Linked DNA regions of Homo sapiens: region 2 is linked to region 1. The links are contacts of gene promoters, found by promoter capture Hi-C in blood cells and fetal thymus (Javierre and others, 2016). All regions are on one chromosome and are shown on one strand. Each heading gives the region's core, a stretch centred on a gene start or on the middle of the fragment in contact. The rest is flanking DNA. Distances are from core to core; before and after follow the strand shown.

Region 1 (3,387 bases), core at 312-2,811:
CATCATCCATCCACTAACTTCACCAATCCATCCACTAACCAACCCACCCATCCATTCATCAATTGTCCATCTACTACTTCATCCACCAATCTCTCCATCCATCCGTCTTCCATCCATTCACCTACCTATTTATCAATCTATGAACCAGCTCATCTACCACTCTCTCCACCAGCCTACCAGATATTAACATATTAACTAATCCATCCAACCATCTATACTTCCATCATTCATCCACCAACCCATCCATAATCCTTCCATCCATCCACCATCTATACATTTCCAGCCACTTAACCACCAATGAACCCATTCACTAATCCATTAAACTATTCATCTATGTATCCATCCACCAGCCCACCCATCCACCCAACCACTCACCTACCCATATATCCACCAACCCACGTGTGCCTCCACCGCAGTCTAAGATGCATCTATCCATTCACCAGCACGCCCATTCATCTGCACACTTGCTCATTCATTCAGTCACTGACTCACTCATTGGACAACCATTCACTGAGTGCTGTTATGTGCCTGAGCTGTATTAGGTATAGAGAATGCAGTGGTGAGCAAAACATAACCCTTTCAGTAAGGAGCTCACTGTCTGATGGAGGAGAGACACCCCTCAGCAACCGATTAGAATTAGCACCTGAAAAGTCTGATGATGGAGGGAAAAGGCCTATAACCAAGCAGCAGGAAGCAACTTCTGAACTGCACCTGGGGGCCAGGTGTGGTGGCTCACACCTGTAATCCCACCACCTTGGGAGGCCGAGGCGGGCGGACTACTGAGGTCAGGAGTTTGAGACCAGCCTGGGCAACATGGTGAAACCCTGTCTCTACTAAAAATACAAAAATAAGCCGGAAATCGCTTGAACACGGGAGGCGGAGGTTACAGTGAGCCGAGATCATGCCACTGCACTCGAGCCTAGGCGACAGAGTGAGACTCTGTCTCAAAGAAAAAAAAAAAAAAGAATTGCATATGGGGAATTGATGAACCAAAATGGTAGATTCACTGTTTCCTAAACATCCACGCTCAGCTTTCTGCCTCGAAGCTTTTGTTCCTGCTGTTCTCCCATCTGGCTTGAGGTCAGCCAGTCCCTTCTGTCCAAAGCTGACCTATTCTCTAAGGCCCAGAAACTCCCCTTCTCCAGGAAGCCTTCCACAAGCAACTGGCCCTTGGTGGAGCCCATTCCATGGTCTCCATGCCCTTAGCTTTCTCCCACAACCGTTTTGTCCAGTTCTGCTTCACGGGGTCCCTCCCAGAGGGCAGAGATGGGGTCTTTCTTTCCCTCCAATCTCCAAGCAGAAGACTGGGCACTCAGGGAGTGTCTGATACCTCCTGGACATGAACAGGGCAGGAACAGCTCTCAAGTGAGCTACACAGGGCTGGACGGGGTGGGGTGAGCTCACCTGCAGACGGCTGTGTCCAGAGAGGTGGGTCATGGCCGAGGAAGCCGGGGGCACCTCTGGGCCCAGGGTCCCACTGCTGAAGAGGGAGTCAACCACGGGGCTGAAGCTGGGGGGCTCTGGGAAGTTTGAAGGCATGGGCGGCTGTGGGAGGCGGGAGTTGGTAAAGAAATCTGTAATTCAGACACACAGGGCAACAGCAGTTAGGGCCAGGGCTATGGCTGGGAAACAGCTGAGAGGAGAGTGGCCTGTCCCCAGCCTTGGCGGGTGGGGACATGGGGACTGGCGGGCAGAGGGTGGGGGTCCCTTCCACAGAAGATTGTGAAACTGGGAGGGTTTCTGTCTCGATTAGGGGAAGCAGCAACCGTCTTGGGTGGAATGAGCTTGCGTGGGAGAGAGCAGGGGACTGTGGATGTGAACAGGGACCCCAGGAAGGAGCCCCCTCCCCTCCCCAGCCCCAGGCTTAGCTCAGGAAGTCCCCCTCCCCACCCCCTGGTGGCTCCCCTTCCCTGATCTGCTGGAGGTGCAGAAAGGGGGTGCCCAGAGCGAGTGCCAGGGTGGAAAAGGGGTACGGTGCTAGGGGAGGAGGCCTGGCATGGGAGGGGCCCCAGGGTGGCAGAAGTTCAAGAGGGTGAGTTGGAGATGAGGGGGAACGTGAGGTCACTGGGTCCGGGACAAGCTTGGTTTGTTGGAAGGTCAACAGGTGGAGCCTAGGAGTGGGGTGAAGAGTGTAATGGGGCGAGAGGGGCCTAAGGCTGGGCTCCGAGTGGGGTGGGGGCGAGAGGGGCCTAAGGGTGGGCTCTGAGTGGTGTGTGGGCAAGAGGGAGATATGGGTGGGCTCTGAGTGGGATGGGGGTGAGGGGGGTGCCTAAGGCTGGGCTCCAAGTGGGGTGTGGGCAAGAGGGGCTAAGGGTGGGCTCTGAGTGGGGTGGGGGCGAGAGGGGCCTAAGGGTGGGTTCTGAGTGGGGTGTGGGCAAGAGGGGGATACGGGTGGGCTCCAAGTGGGGGGGGGGTGAAGGGGGACCTAAGACTGGGCTCCAAGTGGGGTGGGGGCAAGAGGGGCTAAGGGTGGGCTCCAAGTAGGGTGGGGATGAGAGGGGGCCTAAGGGTGGGCTCCGAGTGGGGTGGGGGCGAGAGGGGCCTAAGGCTGGGCTCCGAAAGGGGTGGGGGCGAGAGGGGCCCTAAGGGTGGGCTCTGAGTGGGGTGGGGGCGAGAGGGGCCTAAGGGTGGGCTCTGAGTGGGGTGGGGCAAGGGGTCTGGGAAGCCTGCGAGAGCTGGGGGAGGCAGTAGCGGATTGTTTGGGGTGCGGGTTGTGTAAGTCCTGGGCTATTCTGGTTTTGGGAAGCAGCTGGCCACGGCCTGACCACATCCCGGGCCTGGGCGCCGCCCGCCCACCCGCTCCCTTCCGGGCACCTTTCTCTGACCCTGACCAGCCTGTGATCCGTGCCAGCTCCTGAGGCCTCTTAGTCTGGGCAGTTCCGACCCCACCGTGACAACTCCCCACAGACCTGGGTGGGCCCCAGCTCCCAGTTTTTTCCCTCCCACCCCCCTGCCAGGAGAGCTGCTCAAGTCTGCCTCCCAGGAGCCACCTCCAAGGAGACCAGGAGTCAGTTAGATAAGGTCACCCCAAACCCAGAACCCACTGCAGGGTCAAGTGTGTGTGTGTGTGTGTGTGTGTGTGTGTGTGTGTGTGTTTGTGTCTTCACCCCCAACCCCATCCCCCAGAGATAGAATCGTGCTATGTTGCCCAGGCTGGTCTCAAACTTCTGGCCTCAAGCCATCCTCCTGCCTCAGCCTCCTAAAGTGCTGGGATTATAATGAGCTTGCGTGGGAGACAGCAGGGGACTGTGGGTGTGAACAGGAACCCCAGGAAGCAGTCCCCTCCCCTGCACAGCACCAGGCTTAGCTCAGGAAGTCCCCCTTCCCATCCCCTGGTGGCTCCCTTTCCCTGATCTGCTGGTACAGAAAGGAGGTGCCCAGAGAGAA
Region 2 (3,387 bases), core at 305-2,804, 84 kb after region 1:
AGCTAAGATCGCACCACTGCACTCCAGCCTGGGCAACAGAGCGCAAGACTCCATCTCAAAAACAAAACAAAACAAAAAACCCCCCAAAAACTATGGATAATAAAGCATGACAGACCTCAAGATGCCAAATGATTTTCTCCTCTGCTGTCATGCCTACAGAGTAACTTCTCCAAGGTCACACATTAAATATGGGCACAGGAACACTCATTCCTTATGCTCAATGACTTTTTCTCACTCCTACATGCTATCAACATAAGGAGGAGTGCCCCAGGGGGCTGACCTTAGCGGGAGGAACGACAGGCTCTCCACCGATCCCATTCTTACCCTGGACCAGGTCTCACCTGCGGCTTGGGGAAGTCACAGAAAGACAAGTTTCGTACAACCCCAGACCTTTTCTTTTGGTAGTCAACAATTGGTCACATTGCACATTTCAAGGTTACAGAGGCCCACCATACACATGCGGGGCAGGAGGAGATAAATCTTGCTTGGGGCTAAACAATAAAGCTACAGCGAGTGTTCCAGAAGTTGACCACATCTGGAAGCAAGAAGACAGACTCTGGAAGAAGCACCCTAGAGACTCCAGGAACCCCCTTCACTCCTGGGCTTTCGGGACTCTACAGCGTGGGGCCTCTTTCTCAGACATCGAAAGGCCTCCTTTTCTGGACCACAGTGGAGCGATGTGCAGGTCATCGGCTAAGCTGGGCGGGTCGGGGAGGGCAGGGGGAGTACAGTTCCTTCGGATCCCAGCAAAGGTAGACTATCAATGGCCAAGGGTTCAGAGGCAGGAAAAAAGGCCGTTTCTGGGGGGTTGGCTGGGGACACTCCCCTTCCCTTCTCTCTCCGATTAAATATAAAAGCCGATGATGATGAAGATTGAAAAGATGAGGAAAATGGCAGCCGTGTCTCGGGTATCCTCCCAGCGGAGGCCTTTCATGGACCGATACTCCTGCCGTTTGCGAAGGGCCTCCCGCCGGGCCCTCAGGCGCCGTTCCCGCTCCAGTTGTTCCCCGTAGTGGGCCTGGTAGAAGGCGTCAAAGTTGAACATCGTGCGGTTGGCGCCGGGGGAGGCCCGAGAACCGTCGTGGGTCCGAGAGGTGGGCGGCGGGGTACGCGGCGAGCCGGGGTCGGGTGCGGGCGTCCTGGAGGGCCGGACGCCAGGTCCGCGCAGGTCCTCGTCGCTGAGTAGGCCGCGATCATACTTGCGACGGAGGGTGGCACTGCCCAGCACCACGTAGGCCTGGGAGATGCGCGTGAAGCGCTCGGCGGCCTCCGCGCTCCCGGAGTTGCGGTCCGGGTGGTAGAGAAAGCACTGACGGTAGTAAGCCGCCTTGATTTGGGCCTGCGTGGCTGTGGAGGGGACGCCGAGCAGATCATACAGCGCCGTGCGCGAATACGAGCAGTCGCCCTGGGAATAAGTCCTCGCTCCTAGGCCCAGGCTGGGTGCAGAATTTTGTGGAAAGCCACGGGCCTGCAGCAACCTCCAAGGTAACAGCCGCTGCCACCATCGCCAGCGCATGGCTGCCATGTTGAATTGATTCGGCAGGCGGTGCAAGAGAAACCGGCCAATGAGAGGAGTCGGTTGGTCGCCCTGTGGCCAGTCACGTAAAGGGGGGGGCGGGGCGGTCGTGGGGGTGGAACATGCGTATTACTAAGCGGTCGCCGGGCTGATGACATAAAAACCGGGTGCCGGCAGGCGCCAGTCGCAGGTGTGCTGCTGAGGCGTGAGAATGGCGTCCCGCGGCCGGCGTCCGGAGCATGGCGGACCCCCAGAGCTGGTAAGTCCCGGGGCCCGCGGACACCCCTCTCCCCACTTCTGCGGCCACCGCGTCTGAATTATTCCTCTACATGCCATTTTCTCTTTTTCGCAGTTTTATGACGAGACAGAAGCCCGGAAATACGTTCGCAAGTGAGGGGAGCCTGAATACTGCGGGGCGTCCGGGGGTCGGGAAGCGGCAAGTTGCCCCTGTTGCTGGCGTTGCCCGGAAAGGCCGTAGAATTTGGGGGTGCGGGAAGGGAAGGACCCGGGTGGGTGCCGATTTCTGTCTCTGGTAAATCAACTTTAAGTTGCCGACCTCTCTGGGCCTCGGTACCTCAGCGTTGAGGTAGGGGTGATCGCGCTTGCTTTCCGTGGGTGGTTTTCAAAGTCGAATGTGACAATTTGTCCTAAACATGTGGTAAAAGAGGCGCTGGGCGGTGGGTACGGGCGAGGGGTCAGTCCTGGTGGGGGGAAGGAAGTAATGGCCGTAGGATGCTTATCGTGGCGCCTTGTTGCCAATAAATCTCCAAGACAGCAGTTGGTGTATTATTGTCTGAATTTCATAGAGGGTAGTTTGTATAACTACTGAGTTGTAGCCAGGTGGGAGTGGCTCACGCGTGTAATCTCAGCAATCGCAGCACTTTGGGAGGCTGAGGCGGGAGGATCGCTTGAGCTCAGGGGTTCGAGACCAGCCTGGGCAACGTAGCGAGCCCCCGTCTCCGCAAGTAATAAAAAAATTAGCCGGGTGTGGTGGCTCCCCTCTGCCTCTCCAGTAGTTGGGACCACAGGCGCGCGCCACTACGCCTGGCTTTTTTTTGTAAATTTTTGTTGCGATGGGGTCTCGCTGTGTTGCCCAAGGTGGCCCAAGCCCAGGGCTCAAGCGATCCTCCCGCCTTCGTCTCCCGAACTGTTGGGATTGCAGGCGTGAGCCAGCGCACCTCGAGTCGTTAAAAAAAAAAAAAAGGGGGGGGGATGGGGGCGGGGGGAAGCTGGCGCGGTGTCTCACGCCTGTAATCGCAACACTTTGGGAGGCTGAGGCAGACGGATCACCTGAGGTCAGGAGTTCGAGACCAGCCTGGCCAACATGGCGAAACTCCAGCTCTACTAAAAATGGAAAAAATTAGCCGGGCGCGATGGCGGGTTTCTGTAACCCCAGCTACTCGGGAGGCTGAGGCAGGAGAATAGCTTGAACCCGGGAGGGGGAGGTTGCAGTGAGCCGACATCACGGCACTGCACTCCAGCCTGGGCGACAGAGCAAGACTTTGTTTCAAAAAAAAAAAAAAAAAAAAAAAAAAAAAAAAAAAAGATACTTTGTGGTTTTTCCGTGCTCTCTCACTGAGAGACTAGCCCTATTTCAGTAAATGGTTACTGGCCGGGCGCTATGGCTCATACCAGTAATCCCAGCCCTGTGGGAGGCGGAGGTGGACGGATCACCTGAGGTCAGGAATTCCGAGACCAACCTGGCCAGCATGGTGAAATCCCGTCTCTACTGAAAATACAGATATTAGCCGGGCCTACGGGAGGCTGAGGCAGGAGAATCACTTGAACCTGAGAGGCAGAGGTTGCAGTGAGCTGCGATCGCACCACTGCACTCCAGCCTTGGCGACAGAGTGAGACCCTGACTCAATAAA

What was found. Contacts are between HindIII fragments. The CHiCAGO score rates a contact against its expected background, and 5 or more counts as called.
Region 2: the fragment with the promoter of DNAJC30 here is called in contact with a fragment that was not itself captured in region 1 in 17 of 17 cell types (erythroblasts, naive CD8 T cells, endothelial precursors and 14 more); the score reaches 14.8 in erythroblasts.

What each region holds. Positions count from the first base shown.
Region 1 is chr7:73,598,122-73,601,508 of GRCh38, forward strand. It overlaps MLXIPL (MLX interacting protein like), which reads right to left. Exons shown (of 17, transcript NM_032951.3): 8 at 1,405-1,574. Among named protein-coding and RNA genes, the nearest start is that of TBL2, 21 kb to the left of the region's middle. The HindIII fragment of the contact is 1,034 bases long and covers 1,045-2,078 here.
Region 2 is chr7:73,681,899-73,685,285 of GRCh38, forward strand. DNAJC30 (DnaJ heat shock protein family (Hsp40) member C30) reads right to left here and starts at 1,555. Exons shown (of 1, transcript NM_032317.3): 1 at 1-1,555. The coding sequence starts at 1,525. The coding sequence ends at 845. BUD23 (BUD23 rRNA methyltransferase and ribosome maturation factor) reads left to right here and starts at 1,699. Exons shown (of 12, transcript NM_017528.5): 1 at 1,699-1,775; 2 at 1,869-1,906. The coding sequence starts at 1,728. RefSeq lists enhancers at 977-1,066, 1,307-1,476, 2,407-3,256, 3,257-3,387. The HindIII fragment of the contact is 21,940 bases long and covers 1-3,387 here.